Regions from separate parts of the Homo sapiens genome. Here region 2 is linked to region 1. Evidence: promoter capture Hi-C in human tissues and cell types (Jung and others, 2019). All regions are on one chromosome and are shown on one strand. Each heading gives the region's core, a stretch centred on a gene start or on the middle of the fragment in contact. The rest is flanking DNA. Distances are from core to core; before and after follow the strand shown.

Region 1 (6,597 bases), core at 4,089-6,588:
AGTTTGAGACCAGCCTGGCCAACATGGCAAAACCCCGTCTCTACTAAAAATATAAAAATTAGCCGGGTGTGGTGGTGGGTACCTGTAATCACAGCTACTTGGGAGGCTGAGGCAGGAGAATTGCTTGAACCCAGGGGGCCGGAGGTTGCAGTGAGCCAAGATCATGCCACTTCACTCCAGCCTGGGCAAAAGAGTGAAACGCCGTCTAAAAAAAAAATTAGGGGGAAAAAAAGCAAGTGAAACTCAAAGTAAACAGAAGGAAGGAAATAATAAAGATTAGAGTAGAAATCAATGAAACAGAACACAGAAAATCAGTGGAGAAAAATCAATGAAACCAAAAAGTATTTTTTGAGATCAATAAAGTTGATTAAACTTTAGCCAGACTAACTGAGAGAGGGGGAAGAGAGAGAGAGAGAGAGAGAGAGAAAGAGAGAGAGAGAGAGAATACAAATGACCAATATCAGGAATGAGAGAGGCGACATTACTACAAATTGTATAGATAGTAAAAGAATAATACAGGAATTTTATGAACACCTTTATGCCCATATAAATAAAATAGACAAATTCCTTGATAGATAAAACTACCAATAAGAAATTTAAAACCTGAAAATCCCTATATTAAAGACAATAAATTTGTAGTCAAAAACTTTCCCTCAAGCCAGGCACAGTGGTTCATGCCTGTAATCACAACATTTTGGGAGGCTGAGGCAGGAGGACTGCTTGAGCCCAGGCATTTGAGAACAGCCTGAGCAACATAGCGACAACTTGTCTCTGTAAATAATAAAAAATTTAGCCAGGCACGGTGGCACATGCCTGTGGTCCCAGCTACTCGGGAAGCTGAGGTGGGAGGATCGCTTGACCCCGGGAGGTTGAGGCTGCTGTGAGCTGTGATGGCACCACTGCACTCCAGCCTGGGCAACACAGTGAGAACCCTGTTTCAAAAAAACAAAAACAGGCCAGGCGCGGTGGCTCACGCCTATAATCCCAGCACTTTGGGAAGCCAAGGGGAGGGGTGGACTACCTGAGGTCAGGAGTTCGAGACCAGCCTGGCTGGAACCCCTTCTCTACTAAAAATACAAAAAATTAGCCAGGCGTGGTGGCGGGCACCTGTAGTCCCAGCTACTTGGGAGGCTGAGACAGGAGAATCGCTTGAACTGGGAGGCGGAGATTGTAGTGAGCCAAGATTGCACCATTGCACTCCAGCCTGCCAACAAGAGCGAAAACTTCATCTCAAAAAACAACAACAATAAAAAAAACCAAAAGAAACAAACAAAAAAACAAAAACAAAAACAAATCGAAACCCAAAACCCAAAAACTTTCCCACAAAGAAAACTCCAGGCCCAGATGATTTCACTAGGCAATTCTACTAAACAGTTAAGGAACATGTAATATGAATTTTACACAAATTCTTCCAGAAAATTGAAGAGAAGGGAATACTTTCTTTTCTATGAGGCCAGCATTACTGTGATACCAGGACTAGACAAAGGCATTAGAGGAGAACTACAGACCAATGCACTTCATAACATAGATGTGCTAATTCTTAACAAAATGTTAGCAAACCAAAGCCAGCAATATATAAAAAAGATAGTATGTCATGATCAATACATTACCCTAGGAACGTGAGTTTAGTTTAACACTTGAAAATTAACCACTATATGTAAGACTAAAAAAAAAAAAATATGCAGAAAAAGCATTGACAAAATTAAACATCCATTATTGATAAAACCCCTCAGCCAAATAGGAATAGAAGATTCCTTCCTCAACATGACAAAGGGTATTTAGAAAAAAAAGTCTACAGCCATCATCATGTTTAAAGGCCAAAGATTCAAAGTTTTCCCCCAAGATGAGGAACTAAACAAAGATGTCTGCTCTTACCACTTCTATTCAACATTGTATTAGAGGTTCTAGCCAGTGCATAAAGGCAAGGAAAACAACGACGACGACATCTAGATTGGAAAGGAAGAAGTAAAACTGTGTATTTGCAGATTGTATGTTTATCAGTAGAAAATCTAAATGACTCTACAAAAAGCTCTACTAAAGGTATTAAATGAATTTAGCAAAGTTTCAAGACATATGATTAATATACAAAAATAATTATATTTCTATACCATACCAATGAATAATCAAATTGCCATATAAAAATAGCATTCAATAACATCAAAAATATGAAATATTTAGGAATAAATCCCAGAAAGGTGAGCAAGACCCATATCTTGAAAACTATAAAACATTGAAATTAAAAAGGACTAAAATAAAGTGTCCATGGAATGAAAAATTTGATTTTGTTATGATATAAGTTCTTCCCAAGTTGATCTACAGATTCAATGCAATCTTGATCAAAATCTCAGTGGATTTTTGTTGAAATTTGACAAGGTGATTCTAAAATTCATATGGAAATGCAAAGAACCTAGACTAGCAAGATCAATATTGAAAACGAAGGGCAAAGTCAAGGGCTGAAAGTACCTGATTTCAAGATTTATTATAAAGGCAGAGTAATCCAGACAGTGTGGTATTAGTGCCAAGACAGAAAAATATATCAATGAAACAGAAGGAGAGTTTAGAACTAGATTCTTACATACTTGAGTAAACGATTTTTTGCAAAGGTGCAAGGGTAGTCAGTGGAGACAGGATAGTGTTTTCAACAAATAGTATGGGGACAACTATATATCTATGCAACAAAACAACAAAAGAACTTCAAACTACATTTCATACCACATACAAAAATCAATTCAAAATGGATTATAAACCTAAATGTAAACTCTAGAACTATAAAATTTCCAGAAGGAAACATAGGATAAAATATTTGGGGCCTTGTGTTGGGCAAAAACTTATTAGACATGACATTAAAAGCATGATTCATAGAAGAAAAAATAATAAACTGAACTTCATAAAAATTAAGAAGGTCTAATTTTTTTTTTTTTAAGAGACAGGTTCTGGCTATGTTGGCCAGGCTTGAGTGCAGCAGCTATTCACAGGCCCAATTATAACACATTATAGCCTCCAACTTCTGGCCTCAGGAGATCCTCTTGCCCGAGCCTCCCGAGTAGCTGGGACTACAAGTGTGCACCAGGACAACTGGCTGAAGAACCTCTGCTTTTGGAAAAACACTGTTAAGAGAGTAAAAAGAATAAAAAGATAAGCCTAAACTGGGAAACAATATTTGCCAATCACATGTCTGACAGAAGATTTGTATCCACAATATATAAACAACTCTTTAATTTTTTTAAAAAAATTTTAGAATCAGAGTCTCCTGTGTTGTCCATGCTGGACTTGAAATCCTAGGTTTAAGCAATTATTCCTGCTCAGTGTCCAGAGTAGCTGGGACACCAGGCATGCGTCACTGAGCCCAGCCAGGATATATAAACAACTCGTAAAACTCAATTAACAAGAAAAAACCCCACCAATTTTTAAATAGGCTAAAGACTTGAAGAGACACTTCGCCAGGAGGATTTACAGATGACAAGTCCATGAAAAGATGTTCAACATCTTTAGTCACTAGTGAAATGGACGACAGACCCACAGCGAGATAAAACTACACATCTATTCAAATGGCTAAAATTAAAAAGACTGATCACTCCAAATGTTGGTGAGGATGTAGAACAACTGAAATTCATGTGCTGCTAGTAGGAATGGAAAGGCACAACCACTTTGGAAGGCAGTTTGGCCCTTTCTTAATATGTTAAATATACACCTAAGACAGGACTCAGTTATTCCATTCCTAGATATTTATACCCACGAGAAACGAAAGCATATATATCCATACAAAGACCTGCACACGAAAGCTCATAACAGCTTTGTTCGTAACGGACAAACATTGGAAATAACCTAAATGTCATCAACAGGTGACTGGATAAACACATTGTGGTGTATCCCCATAAAGAATACTACTAAGCAGTAAAAAAGAACTCTTGATAGGCAACGACTGAATAATCTCAAAACGATTATGCCGAGTGGAAGAAGCCATACAAAAAAGAGAGTTTGTACTGTATGATTCCATTTATTTAAAATTCCGGAAAATGCAAACCAATGTACAGTAATAGAAAGAAGATCAGTGGTTGCCTGGAGAGGGTGTGTGGGGGCGAGCGATGCAGGGAGTGATTACAAAGAAGCACACGGAGAAATTTTTGGAGGTGATGGGTGTGTTCATTACCTTGGTGGTGATGGTTTCATGAGTGCACACATAACTCAAAATTGTACAATCTAAACACACGCAAATATACCCCAGTAAAGCTAATTTTAAATGTATTGTAGAGGGCACATTATGTGATAAGCATACCATGTGCCTGGCTGTGTTAGCAATGTGTGAAGTGCATGCTCCCCGTTAGTACAAACAAGAAGTTTATAAGGTTGCTACTGTGACTGTTTCCTTTTACAGACGAGAACACTGAGGTTTGGAGAGGTTGTTACACCCTTTTTCCCTCTTGTGATTGGTGGTAGGAAAATATTAAGTAGAGGAGAGACACAGTAAAGTGCCAAGAGCTCTGGCACTCATTACCTAGATCCTCGCGAGGGTGGAGTGAGCGGTCGAAATGCTCATGCCTACTTTACAGATGGACAGACTGAGGATCGGAAAGACTGAGGTGGCCTGGGGGCTGTCAGGGAGGCAGCGCCTCCCCGCTCCTGGCAGCAGGTCCCTGTGGGCTGAAACACGAGCCTCCACCTGCCGCTGATTGACTTCTCGTTTTTTCAGTGGGCCCAAGATCCTGTAAATTGAGTTCCCTGCGCTTTTGGATGTCAGAAACTTCACTGAGCGCGGCACTGTTGGGGGGCAGGAGAAAGGTAAGACTTGGCACTGACGCGGGCCACAGAGCACGCGGGTCACCACGACAGCTTTCGGGTCTCGCCGCCCGGCGCTGGCGAGCAGCCAGCCAGCGTCTCGCGGCGGGTCCCGGTCCTCAGCCCGCGGCCCCTCCCGGCGGCTCGGCGGGGGCGTAGTGGAGGCGGGCCCGGGGACGCTCGCTGGCGCTCCCGCGCGGCGCCCCCTGCCGGCGCCCTGTTCCCTCTTGCCCCTGATCCGCTCCCGGCGGCGCGGAGACGCGAGTCTGAGAGCCTGCGGGCGGGCGGCGCGCTGCAGGCGAGCGGGCGAGCGGGCGCGCCCTGCAGGGGTAGGTGGGCCGCGGGGGCGCGGGCGGGCGGGCGCGAAGCGCAGGGAGGGGGCGGGGGCGGTGGCAGCGGCGCTTGCGGGCCGGGGCCGGCCCGGGCAGGGGGCGCGCGCGGAGGGGTAGGCGCGGGGGCGGGGCGGGCGGGGGGCCCGGCAGTAGGGGCGCGCGCGCGGTGGCGCGCGGCGGGCGCGAGTCATCAATTATGCAAGGACTCGGGCGGTGCGGGGGGCGGGCGCGGGGAGCGCTCCAAGATGGCGCCCACCGCAGTCCCGCCCGCCGCATCCTCGGCGCCTTTGCAGTCCGGCCGCGCCTCCCGGGCCCCGCGTTAGGGCCGCCGCTGCCTCCCTCGCCGCCGCCGCTGCCGTAAGTCGCCCCAGAGCCCCCGCCCTAGCGCTGCTTCCTGCCCTCCGGGTTTCCCTTCTCGCCTCGGGACCCTTGAGCGGGGCTCGCCCATCTCCAGTCAGGGGCTTTGCCGCAGAGTGCGCGGCGGGGCTCCAGGGGCCGTGGAGCTGGGGCTCTGCTCTCCTTGTTTTGGACAGGTGTTTGGAACTCTTGCTTCCTTCTACTGTGTGTACCGGGGGTCTCTTAAGAGAACTGAGGACCACCAGTCCCCACCCCGGACACCCTGCTTTCTCCGTCTCGGCTACAGTGAGGGACACGGCCCGTCCTTGGTGCCCCTTCCGCGGTGCAGCCCTCCATCCCTCCCTCAGTGCCGGGCAGAGTTGGGGCCCCTAGCCGGCTTGCACTGGGAAGGGCAGCGCTGTCGGGATCTTCCTACAGCAGCCCCTCAGCCCTCCCCCTCCCCCATGTCTTACTGCATCCTTCTCCCTCAGCCGGCTTCACACTGCTAAAAACTGCAGAAGCCAAGGGCTCCTGGGTTCTTCCCGCAGCCAGCACTCCCGACTCCCTCTGTCCTTTACTCGGATGCGTTCGTCCCCCTCCCAACAGGGTGCTCTGGAGTTGTGATGGGGGCTCCCGGGACCTTCCTCGGCAGGCGAGGATTCCTGCATTTGGAAGCACATCACTTTGAGAATATCCCCTTCCCCCATCCCACCCCCACCCCCACCCCCCACCCCCACGCCACCCGATGCAGAGCTTGTTCCTCTCCTCTCCCTCCCCCACCTTACCATCAGCAGCAGCACCCTTGGCTTCTTGTTAGCGTTGGGGTACAGGACTGTTTGCCCAGCTCCGTGGGCTTGGACCCTCCTCTCTAGTTCTCACTTGGTACCTTGGGGCACCGCAAAGCCTCTGCAGTTTCTCCTGAGAGCTCAGCTCCATCCCCTCCATTGCCAGCAACAACCACCGGTGGAGACTTGGCTAACTTTCCAGGGGTTAGCCAGGACTGTCAGACCCTTTCAGGGGCCCCAGCTTCGAGTTGGGATGGAATGGGAACCATTTTTCAGCCCGATAAATAGGATTCTTCAAACCATGCATTCCATCCGACTACTCCACCCTATGCCCTCTTCCTCACTTACACTGCAGTTTTTGAAGCATG
Region 2 (7,054 bases), core at 2,208-4,707, 64 kb after region 1:
TGCAACCTCCACCTGCTGGGATCAAGTGATTCTCCTGCCTCAGCTTCCTGAGTAGCTGGGGTTACAGGCACCCGCTACCACGCCTGGCTAATTTTTCATATTTTTAGTAGAGATGGGGTTTCTCTATGTTGGCCAGGCTGGTCTTGAACTCCTAACCTCGTGATCCATCCACCTCGGCCTCCCAAAGTGCTGGGATTACAGGCATGAGCCACTGGGCCTGGCTGGCACTTCTTACATGGCAGCAGCAAGAGAAAATGAAAAGATGCAAAAGCAGAAACCCCTGATAAAACCATCAGATCTCAGGAGACTTATTCACTACTATGAGAACAGTATGGGGGAAACCGCCCCCATGATTCAAATTATCTTCCACCTGGTCATTCCCACAACGTGGGAATTATGAGAGTACAATTCAAGATGAGATTTGGGTGGGGACACAGCCAAACCATATCAGTGGATATCTCTTCTCTACATATTACCTCTATGATTTGGAAGAGGCCACTTTTCTTTTTGTTCCACCTCCCAGATTCAACACTGAGAGCTCCTAGGATTGCAGTTATCCTGCCAATTTCTCCAGGGAAGAAAGAAGCAGCTGACATGGGTCTTCTGCTACTACTTAATTAATTATAAAGAAACTATTTTTTAAGCTGAAGCTGATGTTTCACTTGAAACAGGTGCTTAGCTGGTGGTATTTGTGAATTCTTGACTTTTTGTTCCAAACAAGAAGACTAAATAAATAGCAAGTATGGATGAGAAAAAAAATCATTCCCTTGAGCTTCAGAAGCACATATCCTTGCCTATATGATGCCTCCATTTGGAGGTACCAAAGCACCTCAGACTCAGCATGTTCAAAAGTAGTCGTCATCTTAATCTGAACACTCTGCATCACATCTTATTCCTTGTCTCGGTGAATTTCACTACCTTTCATCCCTTTGCTCATGATTTGGGTGTCTTCCTTGATTTTTCTTATATCTTACCTTCCTCTTTTAGTCAGTCAACAAAACTGTCCAGTACATCATCCCTGCTGCTGCTGCCTGGCTTAGGCTGTCATCTCTCAGTGGAATTGCTACAATAGTCTTCTTCCTGGTCTTCCTCACTCTGATCTTATTCCTCCCTCGTCTCATTCTATACACTATAGCTAGAATAACCTTCCTAAAATGTAACTTTGATCAAATCATTTTCTACTTTGAAGCTTTCATTATCTCCTTATTGCCTTCAGAATAAAAGCAAAACTCCTTCCCATGAGAGCAGGGCTTTGCGTTCCTGATGTGGTACTTGATTACCTGTTAGCTGATTTTCTGAAATCCACTTACACTGAACTGCTTGCAGTACCCAAGTGGCTTGATCTCTCTTGTCTGTAGTCTCTTAAATATGCTATTTCTTCTTCCTGCAAAGCTCTACCCATTTTCTTCCCATAACCCACCCTACCAGCCCATCTGTGGGCTTTAGCTAAGATGTTACTTTCTCCAGGAAGCTTTCCTTGATCTCTCCAAACTTGGTTAGATGTCTTGCTTGTATATTCTGTAAAAGCCTGTTTTACTTTATTGGAAGATTTACCATACTGTACTTTGCCTGTTTACCTGTCTACTACCTCAGAAGACTATAAGGTCCTTTGAAGGCAGGAGTGAGCTATTATTCATCAGAGTATCATTTATGGCATATGTTGGGGGGCATAGTAAATTTTTTTCTCTCTTTTAAAAAAGATTGTAGTAAAATATCCATAACATTTACCATCATAACCATTTTTAAATATATAAACTGGGCCAAGCGAGGTGGCTCACGCCTGTAATCCCAGCACTTTGGGAGGCCGAGGTGAGTGGATCATCTGAGGTCAGGAGTTTGAGACCAGCCTGACCAACAAGGTGAAACCCAGTCTCTACTAAAAATACAAAAATTAGCTGGGTGTGGTGGCAGGCACCTGTAGTCCCAGCTACTTGGGAGGCTGAGACAGGAGAATTGCTTGAACCTGGGAGGCGGAGGTTGCAGTGAGCCGAGATCATTTATAAACTTTTTCATCATCCCAAACTGAAACTCTGTACCAACTAAATAGTAACTTCTCATTCCCACACAGCCCCTGATTACCCCTATTCTGCTTTCTGTCTTTATGCATTTGACTATTTTTGGTACCTCATATAAGTGGAATCATACAATATTTGTCCTTTTGTATCTTGTTTATTTCACCTAGCATTTTTTCAAGATTCCTCCATGTTGTAGCATGTGTCAGGATTTCTTGCCTTTTTAAGCTACATAAATATTTCATTATGTGTATATTTCACATTTTGTTTATTCATTCATCCATTTGTTTATCTCATAGACATTTGGGTTGTTTCCACCTTTTGGCAGTTGTGACTAATGCTGCTAAGAACATGTGTGTACAAATATCTTTTTGAGTTCCTGCTTTCAGTTCTTTTGGAATTGCTGGATCTTATGGTAATCCTATGCTTAATTTTTTTGAGGAACTGCAGTAATGTTTTCTATAGCAGCTGCACCATTTTCCTTTACCACCAGCAGAGCACTAGAGTCTGAATTTCTCAACATCCTCACCCATACTTGTTATTTTCTGTGTGTATGTGTTTTTAGGTAAGAAATTTTGTTTGTGTTTTAATATTAGACATCCTAATGGGTATGAAGTGGTATCTAATTGTGATTTTGATTCATATTACCTAATGATTAATGATGCTGAACATCTTTTCATGTGCTTATTGGTCATTTTTATATCTGTTTTTGGAGAAAAGTCTATTCAAGTCTTTTGTCTATTTTTAACTGGGTTTTGTTGTTGTTGAGTTTTAGGAGTTCTTTATATATTCTGGGTATTAATTCTATCACAGATACAATTTGCAAATATTTTCTCTCATTCTCTGAGTTGCCCTTTCACTCTCTTGATAGTATCCTTTGAGCAACAAAAGCTTTTCATTTTAATAAAGTTCCATTTATCTATTTTTTCTTTTATTGCCTATGCTTTTGGTGTCATGTCTAAGAAATCATTGACAGATCCAATGTTATGAAGCTTTTCCTCTATATTTTCTTCTAAGAGTTTTATAGTTTTAGCTCTGACATTTAGGTCTTTGATCCATTTTGAGTTAATTTTTGTGTATGGTATAAGGTAAGGATCCAACTTCGTTCTTTTGCAAGTGAATATCCAGTTTTGCCAGCAACATTTGTTAAAAAGATTGTTTTCCCCATTGAATGGTCTTGGTTCCCTTGTCAAAAATCATTTGACCATATATGTGAGGGTTTATTTCTGGGCTCTTTAATCTATTCCATTAGTCTATATGTCTGTCTTTATGCCAGTACCACATTGTTTTGATTACTATAGATTTGCAGTAAGTTTTGATATCAGGAAATGTGAGTCCTCCAACTTTGTTTTTTTTCAAGTATGAGACAAGATCTTTTTAATTTTCCCCTTAAATCTTTTGTAGATATGGGGTCTCACTATAGTTGACCAGGCTGGCCTTGAACACCTGGCCTCAAGCAGTCTTCCTGCTTTGGCCTCCCAAAATGCTGAGATTGCAAGTGTGAGCCACTGCACCCAGCCTGAGACAAGACCTTAGTGCTACTTGCTACCTTTTATTTGATCTTCCTTCCAACATATTTTTTTGTGTGTTCTAGCATAAAGTGTTTGCTTTATTTATGTATTTATTGAGACAGAGACTCACTCTGTCACCCAGGCTGGAGTGCAGTAGCATGATCTCAGCTCACTGCAACCTCCACCTCCCAGGTTCAAGCGATTCTGGTGCTTTAGCTACCCAAGTAGTTTGGATTACAGGCATGTACACCACGCCCAGCTAATTTTTGTATTTTTAGTACAGATGGGTTTTTGCTGTGTCGGCCAGGCTGGTTTCGAACTCCTGGCCTCAAATGATCTGCCTGGCTCAGCCCCCCATAGTGCTGGGATTACAGCACTTTGTAAGGCATGAGCTACTGCACCTGGCCCTGGAGTGTTTGCTTTAACAGCCCCTCCTAGATGACTTCTCTTCCTTTCATTCCTGTTATAACCGCATTTCAATACTGGTTTTCTTTTCCTCTTTCATGCCGTATCCCTTAATTTGGATTCTACTTTGTTTGTTTTCAGGCCACAGTTGGCATTTTAAGGTCTTTTTTTTTTTTCTTTTTTAGAGACAGGTTTAGACACAAGAGTTGTGTCACCCAGGCTGTAGTGCAGTGGCACCATCATGGTTCACTGTAGCTTCTAACTCCTGGGCTCAAGTGATCCTCCCATCTCAGCCTCCCCAGCAGCTGGGACCACCAGGGGGACCCAGATAAATTTTTTTACTTTTTGTAGAGATGGTATCTTCCTATGTTGCCCAGGCTGGTATCAAACTTCTGGCCTCAAGCGATCTTCCCATCTAAGCCTCCCAAAGCACTAGGATTACAGGCATGAGTCACTGTGGCTGGTTGCATTTTAAGGTCTTAATCCTCCTGGACAACCAAAAGAAGAGAGCTCTACCCATTTGTTTGTCCGTATCTTTGAGTCTAGTTCAATCTCTTTTAGAACTGCCAGAGCCAAAAGTTGCTTTTGTTGTTGCTTTATCATCTGGGCTGCCTGTGTCATCTTTAGCACTGCAGGAAGATGCACAATGATATAGTAGTGGTATGATGGACAAGGTCATTGACTTAGAGATTGGGTGTTTTAGTGAAAAGAACATTATATTGGAAGCCAAGAAATGTGGGTCATAGCTTTGCATCTGTCACTAATTGGCAGTTAGACAATTCAGCCTCTCTTATATAACTTATGGATGAAGCAAATTGAACTAGGTGGTCTCTAAGTTCCTTCTAAATCTAACAAGTTTGTTACTGTGCAAGATGACTTCCTCAGAAACAGAAGACATTTAAGCTTGTTTTAATGGATGAATAGAACTTAGGTAAGAAAGAAAGATGTCAGGAGGTTTAAAATAAGGAAATGAAAATATTTTTAGGAGTCAGTGAAAGTAACAGTGACCAGACATTTTATTAAGTGATGCTGGGTCAATTATATAACCACAGGAAAAAAATGAACCTTGTCCTCCACTTCACACCATATGTAAAAATCAGTTCATATGGTTTTCAAAACTAAATGAGAAAGGTAAAATAATAAAGATTGTAAAACAAAGGAGAATACCTACATGGCCTTGGAATAGGCACAGATTTCCTAGAATAAAAAAGTACTAACATGAAGGAAAAGACTGATAGATTGGATTTCAATTAAATTAAGAACTACAGTTTATCAAATGACACCATTAAGACAGGTGAAAGAGAGGAAATATTTGAAATATTATATCTGACAAATGACTTCAATGGAGAATACACAAAGAACTCCTACAAACTAGTAAGAAAAATGCAGTTTAACCCAATAGGAAAAAGTGAGCAAAGACTTAAATCAGCACTTCACAAAGGAGGATGTCTAAATGGCCAATCAACCTTTGAGAAAGTGCTCAGTATCATCAGACAAATACAAATTTAGACAAGAGTGAGCCAACAAACATGAGAAAATGCATCAGTATCATTAGGGAAGTGCAAATCAAAACCACAGTGAGGTACCACTTTACACCCATTAGGATGGCAGCAATTAAAAAAAAAAGGTAAGAAAAAGGAAAGTAACAAGTGTTGGCAAGGATATGGAGAAATTGTAACCTTCTTATATTGCTGTTGGGAATACAAAATGGTTCAGCCACAAAATGCAAAATAGTTCAGGAAAACAGTTTGGCAGTTCCTCAAAAAAGTTAAATGTAGAATTACCAATTCCACTCCTAGGTATAGACTCAAAGGAATTGAAAATAGGTACTAAAATAAGTACATGTGTGTGCACTGTTCATAGTAGTCGAAAGGTAGAAAGAATTCAATGTCCATCAACAGATGAATGTGTAAACAAATTGTGGTATATACATTTCTGGGATATATATTTTGGGGTTTTTTTGGTTTTATTGTTATTTTTAATTGGCACATAATATGTGGTACAGTGTGATATTTTGATACATGTATACAATGTGTGTAATGATCAAATTAGGGTAATTGGCATATCCATCTCAAATATTTATCATTTCTTTGTATTAGGAACATTCAAAATCCACTTTTCTAGCAATTTAATCCACTTTTCAAAATCCACTTTTCTAGCGTTTCCCTGATGATAAGTGATGAGCATTTTTACATATACGTTTTGGCCATTTATATGTCTTGTTTTGAGAGATGCCTATTCAGTTCATTTGCCTATGTTTTAATTGAATTATTTAGTCTTTTGCTGTTGTTTGAGTTCCTTATATATTCTGGATATTAATCCCTTGTCAGAGGAATAGTTCACAAATATTTTCTCCCATTCTACTGGTTGTCTCTTCACTCTGCTGATTGTTTCCTTTGCTGTGCAGAAGCTTTTTAGTTTGATATAATCCCATTTGTCTATTTTTGCCTGTGTTTCCTGTGCTTTTGAGGTCTTCTCCATAAAATCTTTGCCCAGACCAATGTCCTGAAGTGTTTCTCCTATGTTTTCTTCTAGTAGTTTCATACTTACATGTAAGTCCTTAATTCATTTTGAGTTGATTTTTGTATGTGGTGAGAGATAGGGTTCCAGTTTCATTCTTCTGCATATGGTTATCCAGTTTTCCCGGCACCATTTATTGAAGAAATTATCCCTCCCCAATGAATGTTCTTGGTGCCTTTGTCAAAATTCAGTTGGCTATTAATATGTGGATTTAATTCTGTGTTTTCTATTCTTTTCCATTGGTCTGTGTGTCTTTTTATGCTAATACCATGTTGTTCTGGATACTGTATCTTTGTAGTATATTTTGAAATCCAATAGTGTGATAACTCCAGCTTTGTTCCTTTTGCTCAGGATTACTTTGGCTTTTCAAGGTCTTTTGTGGTTCCATAGAAATTTTAGGATTGTTTTTTCTATTTCTGTGAATAATTTCATTGGTATTTTGATAAGGATTGTATTGAACCTGTAGATGGCTTTTGGTAGTATGGTTATTTTCACAATATTAATTCTTGCAGTTCATGAACATGGGATGTCTTTCCACTTTTTTTCGTGATCTTTGATTTTTCATCAGTGTTTTAGTTTTCCTGGGGAGATCTTTCACCTTCCTGG

Evidence for each region. Contacts are between HindIII fragments. The study calls those that stand out against the background at their distance.
Region 2: a contact is called between a fragment that was not itself captured here and the fragment with the promoter of SCN8A in region 1, in 1 of the 25 tissues and cell types used here (H1 embryonic stem cells).

The regions. Positions count from the first base shown.
Region 1 is chr12:51,585,895-51,592,491 of GRCh38, forward strand. SCN8A (sodium voltage-gated channel alpha subunit 8) reads left to right here and starts at 5,339. Exons shown (of 27, transcript NM_001330260.2): 1 at 5,339-5,465. RefSeq lists a silencer at 4,842-5,091. The HindIII fragment of the contact is 14,911 bases long and covers 1-6,597 here.
Region 2 is chr12:51,651,280-51,658,333 of GRCh38, forward strand. The region is part of intron 1 of SCN8A (sodium voltage-gated channel alpha subunit 8); the gene reads left to right. Among named protein-coding and RNA genes, the nearest start is that of SCN8A, 64 kb to the left of the region's middle. The HindIII fragment of the contact is 4,254 bases long and covers 1,331-5,584 here.